Linked DNA regions of Homo sapiens: regions 1 and 3 are each linked to region 2. Evidence: promoter capture Hi-C in 16 types of primary human blood cells and fetal thymus (Javierre and others, 2016). All regions are on one chromosome and are shown on one strand. Each heading gives the region's core, a stretch centred on a gene start or on the middle of the fragment in contact. The rest is flanking DNA. Distances are from core to core; before and after follow the strand shown.

Region 1 (3,661 bases), core at 979-3,478, 460 kb before region 2:
AGGCTGGAGTGCAGTGGCACAATCATGGCTCACCATAGCGACTTCCCAGGCTCAGGTGATCCTCCCATCTCAGCCTCCTTAGTAACTAGGACTACAGGCGCCCACCACCATGCCTGGCTAATTTTTGTATTTTTTTGTAGAGACAGGGTTTTGCCATGTTGCCCATGCTGGTCTCGAACTCTTGGGCTCAAGCGATCCACCCACCTCTGCCTCCCAAAGTGCTAGGATTACAGGTGTGAGCCACTACGCCTGGTCCATTACCTACATTTTTTTTTTTTTTTTTTTGAGACGGAGTATGGCTCTGTCGCCCAGGCTGGAGTGCAGTGGCACAATCTCGGCTCACTGCAACCTCAGCCTCCCAGGTTCAAGCGATTCTCCTGCCTCAGCCTCCCAAGTAGCCGGGATTACAAGTGCCCGCCACCACGCCTGGCTAATTTTTTGTATTTTTAGTAGAGACAGGATTTCACTATGTTGGCCAGGCTGGTCTCGAACTCCTGACCTCATGATCTGCCCGCCTCGGCCTCCCAAAGTGCTAGGATTACAGGTGTGAGCCACCACGCCCAGCCACACATTTTATAGAAAAGAAAAACAGCCATCATTTACTGACCACCTACTATGTGCCACACCCTGAGCTAAGTAGTCAAAAGCCATAGCTCCACACCATGATGTGGAGTAGGAAATTGAAGCAATTTGCCCAGGGTCACAGAGATAGCTAGTTAAAGGACTTCTCTCCACCAAATGCTAGGTGTGTAACCTCAGGTAACGTATATAATCCCCTCTTGCCTCAGTTTCCTCATCTGTAAATTGGAGATGACAGCATTTACCTCATAAGGGTGATTATGAGTTAAAGCATGTGCTTCAAGCAGTGTCTGGCATACGGTACATGTTTGCTACTGCTGTTATTATTATACCCAAACTTCCCCTTTTTCATCTGTAATGAGGAGGTTGACTACAAGGCCTTTAAAGATGCCCTGCTGGGTGATCCACTGAGGCTGTGGGCTCAGACATGGCCCTCATCACTGGAAAATGCAGGCTGCATGCCAGGCATGGTGGTTCATGCCTATACACTTTGGGAGGCTGAGGTAGGAGGACTGCTTGAGCCCAGGAGTTTGAGACTAGCCTGGGCAACACAGTGAGACCCTGTCTCTATAAAAAAATTAAAAATCAGCCAGGCATGGTGGGACATGCCTGTAGTCCCAGCTACTCAGTGGGGGTGGGTGGGGGTAATTACTTGCGCCCTGGGAGGTTGAGGCTGCAGTGAGCCGTGATCGCACCACTGCACTCAAGCCTAGGCAATAGAGCGAGACCCTGAAAAAAAAAAATCAAAGAAAGGAAGGAAAGAAAGGGGAAGGAAGGAAGGGAGGGAGGGAGGGAGGAAAGGAAGGAAAAATGCAGGCTACTGTGTCACTTTCCTCACAGGAAGTTTTCTCAGACCACAGAGGAGAATATTACAGACACCCAGGGCTAGAAGTCAAATCCCCCGATTTTGCCCAAGAATGGCAAATAATTTTCCACAATCAGCCAGTGCTGTAAAGATGAATGCCAGTCTGGCTTACCATCATGCACCAGTCACTGACGGACATCTCGTGGGACCTTTCAAAATAAGCATTCTTCTCCTGCTGTCCCAGCCACAGGTCATGTCCTTGAGTTTCACAAGTAGCCTCTTTGGCTTTCTCACACGTGGTGAAGAGTGGCAAACAGACTTTCTGTTCTCCAACTCACTTTTTTCTTCCCTAGCAGAGGAGATCCCACTGCTTATAGCTCAGGAAATTTAAGCCTCAACTGCAACAGTGGCTGGAAACCTTTTCTAGTAGCAGAATTTTATAACTCACAGAAAGAATTTGGTCTTAAGGTCCCTGCAATCAGTGTCAAGCCTGATTTCTGCAGTGCCACTCACTTCAATGCCAGGCATGTGGGATCAGACAGCAGGGAATTTGCTATCAAAAGAGCTGGGTCTGAATCCAGGTTCTGCCACTCCTAGGCTATGTGACTTTGAGCAAGTCTCTGACAGAGGCTTCTTCATTTGTAAAATGCGGAACAAGAACATCCCTCACAAGGCTTTTAAGTGAGGTGTAAAGGCACCAAAGGAAAGGGTTTGTCCAAGGTCAGCAGATAAAGACTAGGACCAAGTCTCTACATCTTGAGCTGATTTTCAACATCTTGCTTCCTTTTGGGTAAGAAAGCCACAAAGTTTGACTTTGTGTACCTTCCTCCCCTCCTCCTAAGAGGGCCCAGAAGAGAAGCTACTGACCTCTTGTAGGAGTAGCCCAAGATGATGCCAGCTCCGATGGCAATGATGATCACCATCATGGTAATGCCCAGCACGTAGCCTGCCAAGGATAGGACACAAGGTCCCATTAGCCACACCCTAGACAATCAGCAAATGACATCTCTTGATGAATCCCAACGAGGGCAGGGGTGGGGGACCGTCATACCCAGAGTTCCCAGGTCCTTTTTCTCCTTGGAGTTCATCCGCACCCGCTGGCTGATCCCAATCACTGGCTGCACAGCTGCCGCCTCACTCCGAGCGGGCAGGGCGTTGGCAGGAGCGAACACCTGCACCTCATCTGCACCTGGCCCTTCAGACGCTTCCTGGATTTCTGTCGTGAAGGCTGGCAGGGCCTGGGAGGTGGTCTCTGGAGATGAGGTGGGAAACAGCTCTCATCAGGGACTGCCCTGAGTGAATTCCACAGCTGAACCTGGCCTGAGTGTTAGGGTAGATGAAGGTGGGTCACCTAAGAATTTCCCCCCACACACAACCCAAAGTCAAATTCTGCCCCAGAGGTAAGATCAGGCCTGAGAGGGCTGAACCATCTCAGGGACAAGGCAAATGAGAGAGGAAGGCCGTAGGGAAGGGCTTCTCTCCTACCTCCCACGTCTTTATCTGTCCAAATCCTTGCTATTTCCCAAGGCCCCTCTCGGTTGCGTTCTTCTGCAGGGGATTCCCCCCACTTCTACTTCAGGAAACAACCCATGCTTCCTTTGAGCAGCTCACATCTAAGCGTACGCTCTGTGCCAGTCCTTAGGTAAAATGTTTTACTTTGTGCCGGGAGCGGTGGCTCACGCCTGTAATCCCAGCACTTTGGGAGGCCAGACGGTCGGATCACCTGAGGTCAGGAGTTAGAGAGCAGCCCGGCCAACATGGTGAAACCCCGTCTCTACTAAAAATACAAAAATTAGCTGGGCGTGGTGGTGCACGCCTGTTATCCCAGCTACTCAAGCGGCTGAGGCAGGAGAATCACTGTAACGCGGAAGGCGGAAGTTGCAGTGAGCCGAAATTGCGCCACTGCACTCCAGCCTGGGTGACAGAACGAGACTCCGTCTCAAAAAATAAAAAATAAAAAATAAATGCTTTATTTTGATTATCCCATTTAAACCTAGAAAACTCTCTTGCTGCTTTGGGAGCAAAAAGCCTGCGCTCTGGAATCTAAGAAACGTGAATTCAAATCTGTCCCCTGCCATTGCCTTTGGTAAATCGCTTAACTTCTCTGAAGCTCAGATGCCTCAAACGACTTCTTCCCGCGGTGTGTGTCAGGGGAGGTTGGGGAGCTGGGGTTGTGAGCAGTGTGGGTCTAGCACACTGCAGACGCTCCGCAAACGGTCAATAAACGCTGAGGGGCCAAAAGCCACTCCTCAGGACGCGCGGCGGAGAGACCTAGCC
Region 2 (4,160 bases), core at 1,388-3,887:
CTTGAGTGTGTTAAGTGAAAGTTAAGTGAACTTTCCCGGGCTTGTTTTTCACATGTTCATCAAAATAAGCTCAAAGGGTCTTGTCACCCATAAATATCCTAAGACTCCAAAGAATAACTTTTCTATTTCCCTTTGTTTCAGAAAAGCACACCTACAGACACCAACAATGGTGGTATAGAGCTCCCACTAATCCCCTCTGCAATTACTCAACGGCGTTTGAGGTAATTTAAGAACACTTTACATACAAAAAAAGATGGTAAGCGTTTCTTTAGTGTGCTTTCAGGTAATTTGGCAGTGTTAATTCCTATCCCACCAAAAAAAAAAAAAAACAAAAACAGGAAAACAAACCTACCAGTGAAGGATTAACATTGTTGCTCTCAATCTCATCAGAATACATTTTATAACACTAAAAACCTGACAAAGTGGCAACTTTTAGTCATTCAAACACTCCCCAAAACAAAAGTTCTGGAGGTACAAAATTTACAGCAACAAGCAAAAAAAAAACAGAACATAAAACCGTGTGCCTCAATAATCCCGAATCTGAAAGTCTCCCCTCCCTTTAATTCCAATGCATAGGGGCTGTTAATAACACTAGGCGCTGCCATGCTTGCTTCAGGAACAATACTCACAATAATGACCAGGCCCTCAGAAGCTCACAACACTCTTTTCACCTTGAGAAAGGGGCTTTCTTTTCCAAAGATTCAGACATTGTAGCCATTCCCTCCAAGAGGGAATTTGGAGAATGGGCCTCTTCTTGAGAAACAAAGAAAGAAGAGTTTTTTAATAAAATCCCAAGACAAACCAAAAGTGAGGCAGGGAAGTTCATACACTAAACAGGGCAAGCGCTTCAACATGGAGCGTGCAGAAAATCTCTAAAGCATCAAGGACTATTTCCCATTTCCTCCCTTTAATAACATCCAGAAAAAGGATCCCTGTCTCCACGTAAGGAGTGAAACTGGAAAATGCTCCTGATTTCTACTGACAGAGGCTTCCTGTATAAAAGATTTTCCTCTGTTTTATAAAGGAAAAGGAGAAAAGAAACAATCTGTGTCATTTTCCATATACAAGAGGGAAGAGATCTCTCCTCAAAGGTATAGAGTCTTCATTTTCTTGGGAGAGCAAAAGACAGGAAGAATATGGAATCGCCCACTTGGGGGGGTGGGAAGGATGTGCAGATGGAAGATTTTTTGTCACTACAGTAAGTCAGGGAAGTGGGAGAGGGCATCTCTAACCAGTCAGGAAGAAGTGATACCTTCTGTGGACAAAGGAAGTGCTGGCGTCTGGCATCAGGTCTCACTTTCTCTTAAGAGCACAGACCTGTTTCCAAAAGCTAAGTCTTTTTTTTACTGATTATTTTCAGTGAGGCCCTCTTTGTTAATTTGGGAAAGTATTGAACAGCAGGATCTAAGGGGACTGGAAGTGTCTCTTTCTCTAACCCCTAAGTGGGAGGGAGTCTTCCACTCCAGTGAGAAAGGATGGTTGAACACTTGTGATGGAGGCTGCGAGGGGCATGCATGGAAAAATATGCTTCTCTGTGCAAGATATTAGTTTTCTTTTTTAACAGATTAAGTAATAGTAATAGCAACAGCTTACCAAAAGCTTACTATATAACTAGTATTTACACAAATGCTCCCTTAGCCCGCATGACAATTCTAAGAAAACAGAACCCAAATTGGAGATGGACTGAGATTCAGACAAGTTAAACAAATAGTCAAGGTCACAAAGACGTTAAGTGAGAGACCCAGGTTTGCAACGATTACACTCCAAAAGCCATGCTCTTAATAATGCAAGGGAAAGGAGCTCACTGCACACCAAGAGGCTTAAAGGGAAGAAGAGAAGCGAGGGTCTCTCTGTGGACATCACGAGGGGAGAGGGAGAAAGGTTGATTTCTGATACCATAAAGTAAAATTTCAAGGTCTTCCTCTCCGTATCTTGGGGTACAGGCGAAAAATAAAGGAGGAAGGTAAGTCTCTTTCTTACTGGGAAGAAAGATCCCCTCTGTCACTTTCAGGCAAGTTGGGTCTCACTCTTCACCTGGGTGACGCTGACCAAAGTTGGGGGAAAGGTCTCATTTAGGGGTTATCTTTTACTCCTCCTCAGGATAAGTTCAGAATCCCCCTCGAACCCTGGGAGTGGGTCTCCCTCTGCTGACCAACGGATGAGCGCTAAGAAAGAGCGTACGCCTCCGATAAGGGGCGTCGTCCTCTCCGAGGAGATAAGTTGGGGGATCCCTGTTGTATCGAGGTTGAAGAGGAGTCTCTCTCCCGCGTCGGAGCCATGACTCGGAGAAGCCGCTTTTCTCTAGCGACGCGGGGCCTGGTCTCCTCCCTCTCCCTGGGTCGTTCCGCCGCCCACAGGGCAGCCTTGGTTCCTTTCCGCGCCCCGAGAGGGCGGGGGGCCTGGACTCCCCTTTAGCAGCACCACCCGGCGGAGGGTCCCTTTAGGGCGGAGTGGGGCGGGGCGGCTACGCCCGAAGCCTTCCAGTCCCGGCCTCTTACCCTGAGACCTCCTCCGCGGCCCGCGCTTGCCCAGCCAGCTCAGCCCCTGCAGCTGCAGCCCCGTCGTCGCCAGGTCTACCTGAGCCTACGGAGCCGACAGAGGCCGGGGGCGCTCCGGCCGCCGCCACCTCTTCGTCTCTATGGTCCCCCTGCACTTCCTCATCCGGGGCCCGAGCCAGCCATGCGGACTCGCCCAAATCCCGCCCCCGCACCGCGCGCGCGCACTCCAAGGGAAGGCTCTTCCTGATTCTGACCTCCCGCCCTCTGCTAGCCCCAGCCTCCCTCAACCCCGCCCCTGCGGCTCAAACTCTTAAAGGGAAACACAACTTTTGGTTCTGCTCCTGCTGAGCCACAGGACCCAGTGCCGGCCTTCGCTGCTGTCACCCTGTTCCAGTCCACCGTTTTTCTAGTCTGGACGGCTACAATTCTAAGGGCCTGCCTGCTTCCACTCTGGCAGCCCGAGAGATCTTATTCTACTGGAAAGAGTGTTTTGGGTCATGACACTCCTCTGCTTCTTCTAATCACACTGACCACTAAATAAATGGCACCTCTGCCTCCAGTTGGTTACAGAACCTTGTTTTATTTTCTTCATAGCTTTAACACTAGCTGAAATTTCTATGTCTCATCTCTTTATTGACTTGTTTATCATTTATCTTCCTCCACCTTGTCTGTTTTGTTCATCACTTAATGCTCAGCACCAAGAGCAGTGTCCGGCACAAAACTAGACGCTCAATGGACATTTGAAGGAAGGAAGAAATGTTTATCCAGTGGAAGAATTGAGGTCCAGATAATGAAATCGACTTGCCCCAAATAATACGGCTTTGTGTTAAAAAATAGAAATCGACCAGGCGCGGTGTCTCACGCCTGTAATCCAGCACTTTGGGAGGCGAAAGCGGGAGAAGCACTTCAGCCCAGAAGTTTGAGACCAGCCTGGGCAACATAGTGAGACATCGTTTCTGCCAAAAAACAAACAGCTGGGTCTGGTGATGTGTGCCTGTAATCCCAGCTACTCTGGAGGCTGAGGCAGGAAGATCACTTGAGGCTGGAAGGTTGAGGCTGCAGTGAGCAGTGATAGTGCCACTGCACTCCAGCCTGGATGACACAGCAAGACTCTTTCTCAAAACAAAACAAAAATTGCTCAGGTGTTGATGCACCTGTGCTCCTAGCTACTGGGGAGCCTGAAGCAGGAGGATCGTTTGAGCCCAGGAGTTTGAAGCTGCATTGAGCTATGATGGTGCCCCCACTGCACTCCAGCCTGGGCAACAAAACAAGACACTGTCTCAAAAAAAAAAAAAAAAAAAAAAATTGAATGCTTCAAAGTTTCGTTTCTTTCTTTCTTTTTTTTTTTTTTGAGACGGGGCCACGTTCTGACACCAGGCTGGAGTGCAGTGGTAGGATCTCGGCTCACTGCAACCTCTGCCTCCCAGGTTCAAGAGATTCTCCAGCCTCAGCCTCCTGAGTAGCTGGGATTACAGGCGCATGCTACCATGCCCAGCTAATTTTTGTATTTTTAGTAGAGACAGGGTTTCACCATGTTGGCCAGGCTGGTCTTGAACTCCTGACCTCGAGTGATCCGCCTGCCTCGGCCTCCCAAAGTGCTGGGATTACAGGCGTGAGCCACCACTCCTGGCCTTCAGAGTTTCTTTATGAGAGTTGCCAAAT
Region 3 (4,263 bases), core at 126-2,625, 350 kb before region 2:
TTCTTCTTTGTCTGTTTTGTTTTTTTGAGACAGGGTCCCACTCTGTCACCCAGGCTGAAGTGCAGTGGCATGATCACAGCTTACTGCAGCCTCGTCTTCTTGGGCCCACCTCAGCCTCCCGAGTAGCTGAGATTATACCACCACACTGATTTTTTGTAGAGACGGGGTTTCGTCATGTTGCCCCCTGTACCCAGCTAATTTTTTTTATTTTCGTAGAGATGAGGTATTGCTGTGTTACCCAGGCTGGTCCCAAACTCCTGGGCTTAAGCGATCCTTCTGCCTTGGCCTCCCAAAGTGCTGGGAGTGAGCCAGGCGTGAGCCACCAAACCTGGCCAGGGATCATGGTTTAATGGGAGTCAAGAGAAGTAAAACAGTGCCCGAGAAAGCCTATGTATTTGACCACATATAATTGTTCTGGAATGGTGGGAGTGTCTCATCAAGAGATGAAGCTTTTCTGTCAATCTTTGTTTTACTTATTTATTATTTATTTTAGAGGTAGTTTCTCGCTCTTTCACCCAGGCTGGAGTGCAGTGGTGGGATCATAGCCCAGTGTAACGTCAAAGTCCTGGGCTCCAGTGAACCTCCTGCCTGAGCCTTCCCAGTAGCTAGGACTACAGGTGCGGGCCAACAAGCCTGAATAATTTTTTTTTTTTTTTTTGAGACAGGGTCTTGCTGTTACCCAAGCTGGAGTGCAGTGATCTGATCATGGCTTACTGTGGCCTTGACCTCCTGGGCTCAAGTGATCCTCCTGCCTCAGCCTCACACATAGCTCAGACTACAGGTATGTGCTACCACGTCTGGCTAATTTTTAAATTTTTTGCAGACCGGCTAATTTTTTTTTTTTTGTAGAGATGGGGCGTCTCCCTATGTTGCCCAGGCAGGTCTTGAACTCCTGGCTTCAATGCCCAGGCTGGTCTTGAACTCCTGGCCTCAAGCGATCCTCCCACCTCAACCTCTGAAAGCACTGGGATTAAACTGTGAGCCACTGTCCCCGGCCTATTTATTTTTTACACATTTAATACCAAGGTGCTAGTGCTTTATTCATATGACCAAATGGGCTCTCCTTGCTGCAGTTGGTACTTAACAGACATGGGGTAGCTATGGCTCTTAGGAGCTGAACCTAAGGTCCTGGCCTTGGCCTCCCAGCCTGGATACTTCTTTTTTTTTCTTCCTTGAGATAGAGTCTCGCTCTTGTCGTCCTGGCTCCAGGCTGTAGTGCAATGGCATGATCTCGGCTCACTACAACCTCTGCCTCCCGGGTTCAAGCGATTCTCCTGCTCAGCCTCCTGAGTAGCTGGGATTACAGGCGCCCGCCACCACGCCCGGCTAATTTTAGTATTTTTAATAGAGACGGGGTTTCACCATGCTGGCCAGGCTGGTCTCGAACTCCTGACCTCAGGTGATCCACCTGCCTCGGCCTCCCAAAGTGCTGGGATTACAGGGGTGAGCCACTGTGCCCAGCCCCAGCCTGGATACTTTTTTTTTTTGAGACTGAGTCTCCCTCTGTCGCCAGGCTGGAGTGCAGTGGCACATTCTTGGTTCACTGCAACCTCCGCCTCCCGGGTTCAAGGGATTTTCCTGCCTCAGCTTCCTGAGTAGCTGGGACTACAGGTGCATGCCATCATGCCTGGCTAATTTTTTGTATTTTTAGTAGACACCGGGTTTCACCGTATTAGCCAGGATGGTCTCGATCTCCTGACCTCGTGATCTGCCACCCACCTCGGCCTCCCAAAGTGCTGGGATTACAGGCATGAGCCACCGCGCCCGGCCTAAATACTTGTTATGTGCAGGAACATATCTGATTCACTCTCTACTCTGTCCCCAGTGTTGTCACAGTGCCAGGCAGCAGTTGGAGCTCTGTAAATAACGATTGCATGAACAGGATGGCCACCCAGGACTCGGGAAAATGAGTATTACTCTTTGGTGCCTATTGACAGTTCAGGGCCCCAAGGTGGGTCCCAGGGTGTCTTTGAGCAGTAAGTGTTAACTTATCTGCAGGCCTCATATAATAGATTTGCTAAGGAGCACCTACTCACAGAGCAGTGATGCCCTTGATATTGTCAGCCAATTAATTCCTTAAGTACTTCAAGTTAGGATAGGCCTGCTGATTTGATTTTATCTGTCTTTTAAGATTGATCTTTGATCATGTCCCATTCCAGCTGGACCTCCTCATCTTCCCTCCTCCATTGCTAATAGTGTGGGATCTAATTACCTCATCATCCCTTAATTTATTTATGAAAAAGGCTGAGGTTAAAGAAAAGAAAGAAGAAACTCTCTTTGGCCCTTTGGGGACCTTCTGTAAAAGCTTTCCCTTCTGTTTCTCCCTCTTTATGCACAAGAAAACCTCCCTTTTTTGTCTCTGGGAAGTTAGAATAGTTCTTGTTTACAAATTTAACTAAATTAAACTTCCCTCCCAGGGCTGGGTGGAGGCCAGCCCTGTGGGTTAAGCCTGGCCTGTCGACTGTGGGTTAAGCCTGGCCTGTCGACTCCCGCTGGAATAATCAATCTATCAAAACAACCCATTGATCCTGAGGCAAACCGCTTTCAAAACCACCACATAGTTCCTGGACGTCCTGGCTTCCTCATGACACTTGGGGAAGAGGAGTCTTTTGAAATTTTAAATTTTATTATTACACAAGTAATACATGGATACATTCGTCTTGTAAAAATTTAACTTCAAAATTCTGTGGAATAAAATGTGAAAGGCCTTTTCTTTGCATCCCATCCCACAGTTAAGAGCTTCTGATGTATTTTTCTGTTTAGGCCTTTAAACTGCACGTTCATACACGTACACCTATATAAATGTACATTTAATTTTAAAAATAACATAAATGGTATCACTACGTAGGTGCCCTTCTGCTAGTTGTTTTCCCATTTAACATGTCCTGGGTAGCCAGTCAGACCACAGATCTACGTTTTAACGGCTGTAATCATATTTCAAAAACAGGATAGAGGCATTATTCATTTATCCATTTTCCTACTGATGGGTGTTAATATAGATTTCAATTTTTTGGTATTACAAACTATGTTGCAAGCAGCAGTTCTCTGGGAATTATCCATTCAAGTATGCACTTATTTTGGGCTCCCCATGTGCTCTACTCGGGGTTCGGAGTAAACAAAACCGACCTAAAAATAATTTTGAATGATAGAAAGGGGGCATTTTCTTTATCCAAGGGGGTGAGGCAGGCTGAAGATGGGTCTCTACTCCCTCCAAGACCATGGAGGGCGTCGGGGTGTCACCCCAGCTGTGAAAAAGGGACCCAGGACCCGCAGATGCTGGCGAGGAACAGGGGTGCGGAGCATGAGTCGGCTTTGCACCACGCCCTGGGGTCTCCAGCACTGAAGCGTTCAGTACCATGCAGAGCAGCTGGGAGCGGGTCCCGCTGGGCGGGGCCGAGCTGCGCGCGACCCTCGGCGCGCTCGGGGAGGCCCAGACAGGGGTGGCCTCTCTGGCCTCCGCTCCCGCGGGCTCTATGACACCGCACTGGCTCGCGGGACGGGGCGGGGTCGGGTGAGGGGGAGGAGACAGCCCCACGCTTTGCGACTCGCGGTGACCCCTACGCGGAACTCTCTCGCGGTAATTCGAAGTACCGCGCCTGCGTGCTGCAGTAGCGCCTGGTGGCGGTGGCAGTTTGCCCGCGGGTGTGTGAAGGGAGACAGTGTGGAGGCCACAGGGTACTCGCCACGATGAGCAGCACCTTAGCTAAGATCGCGGAGATAGAAGCAGAGGTAATGGACGCAGCTGGCGGTTCACTCTTAGTCTGAGCATTCCTTCTTTGGTGGCGTCGCTCCTTCCTGTTCTCCTTTGAGCCGCGTCAGGACCGGGCCTAGATTCCGCGACTTCTCTCAGCGAGGCCCGTGTTCCGACTGCCCTCTGCCACGATTAGGAGTCCCCGACTCTCCTCAGTCAGGGCCCCCTTTCCCCTCGTCCCGCGTCTACGCTCTCGGACTCCCCTTTGCCCGGGCCCGCGTTCCGCACCCCTGCACCTTAGGCCCTTAGTCCGTTCCCCCTCCCAGTGTTTGGCTCCTGTTCTGATGTTGTTTCTTTCCGTTTTGCTCTGAGAAACACTGAATCCTGTCCCTTATTCCATCTCTGACTTGGTCAGATAGTTCAGGATCTTTCCTCATCATCCTTCGCTGCGTCCCCCTTATTCCCCCTTTTCCCAGTGTCTACCCTAATGACCCCCTGATTCAGAGTATTTGCTCCCGGTAATCGGATCTGGAAGTAAAATGACATCTGTGTGGGAGCAGTTTATTCCGCCT

The links. Contacts are between HindIII fragments. The CHiCAGO score rates a contact against its expected background, and 5 or more counts as called.
Region 1: a fragment that was not itself captured here is called in contact with the fragment with the promoter of PRR14L in region 2 in 2 of 17 cell types (fetal thymus and naive CD4 T cells); the score reaches 5.2 in fetal thymus.
Region 3: a contact is called between a fragment that was not itself captured here and the fragment with the promoter of PRR14L in region 2, in 2 of 17 cell types (monocytes and non-activated CD4 T cells). The highest score is 5.3, in monocytes.

The regions. Positions count from the first base shown.
Region 1 is chr22:31,287,064-31,290,724 of GRCh38, forward strand. It overlaps PIK3IP1 (phosphoinositide-3-kinase interacting protein 1), which reads right to left. Exons shown (of 6, transcript NM_052880.5): 4 at 2,436-2,636; 5 at 2,252-2,330. Among named protein-coding and RNA genes, the nearest start is that of PIK3IP1, 3.6 kb to the right of the region's middle. RefSeq lists enhancers at 2,221-2,270, 3,418-3,617. The HindIII fragment of the contact is 5,705 bases long and covers 1-3,661 here.
Region 2 is chr22:31,747,495-31,751,654 of GRCh38, forward strand. It overlaps PRR14L (proline rich 14 like), which reads right to left and starts at 2,638. Exons shown (of 9, transcript NM_173566.3): 1 at 2,499-2,638. RefSeq lists enhancers at 1,648-2,280, 2,520-3,079, 2,569-2,863. The HindIII fragment of the contact is 5,796 bases long and covers 1,598-4,160 here.
Region 3 is chr22:31,395,997-31,400,259 of GRCh38, forward strand. It overlaps DRG1 (developmentally regulated GTP binding protein 1), which reads left to right and starts at 3,608. Exons shown (of 9, transcript NM_004147.4): 1 at 3,608-3,729. The coding sequence starts at 3,688. RefSeq lists a silencer at 3,268-3,547 and enhancers at 3,635-4,263, 3,668-3,717. The HindIII fragment of the contact is 1,856 bases long and covers 448-2,303 here.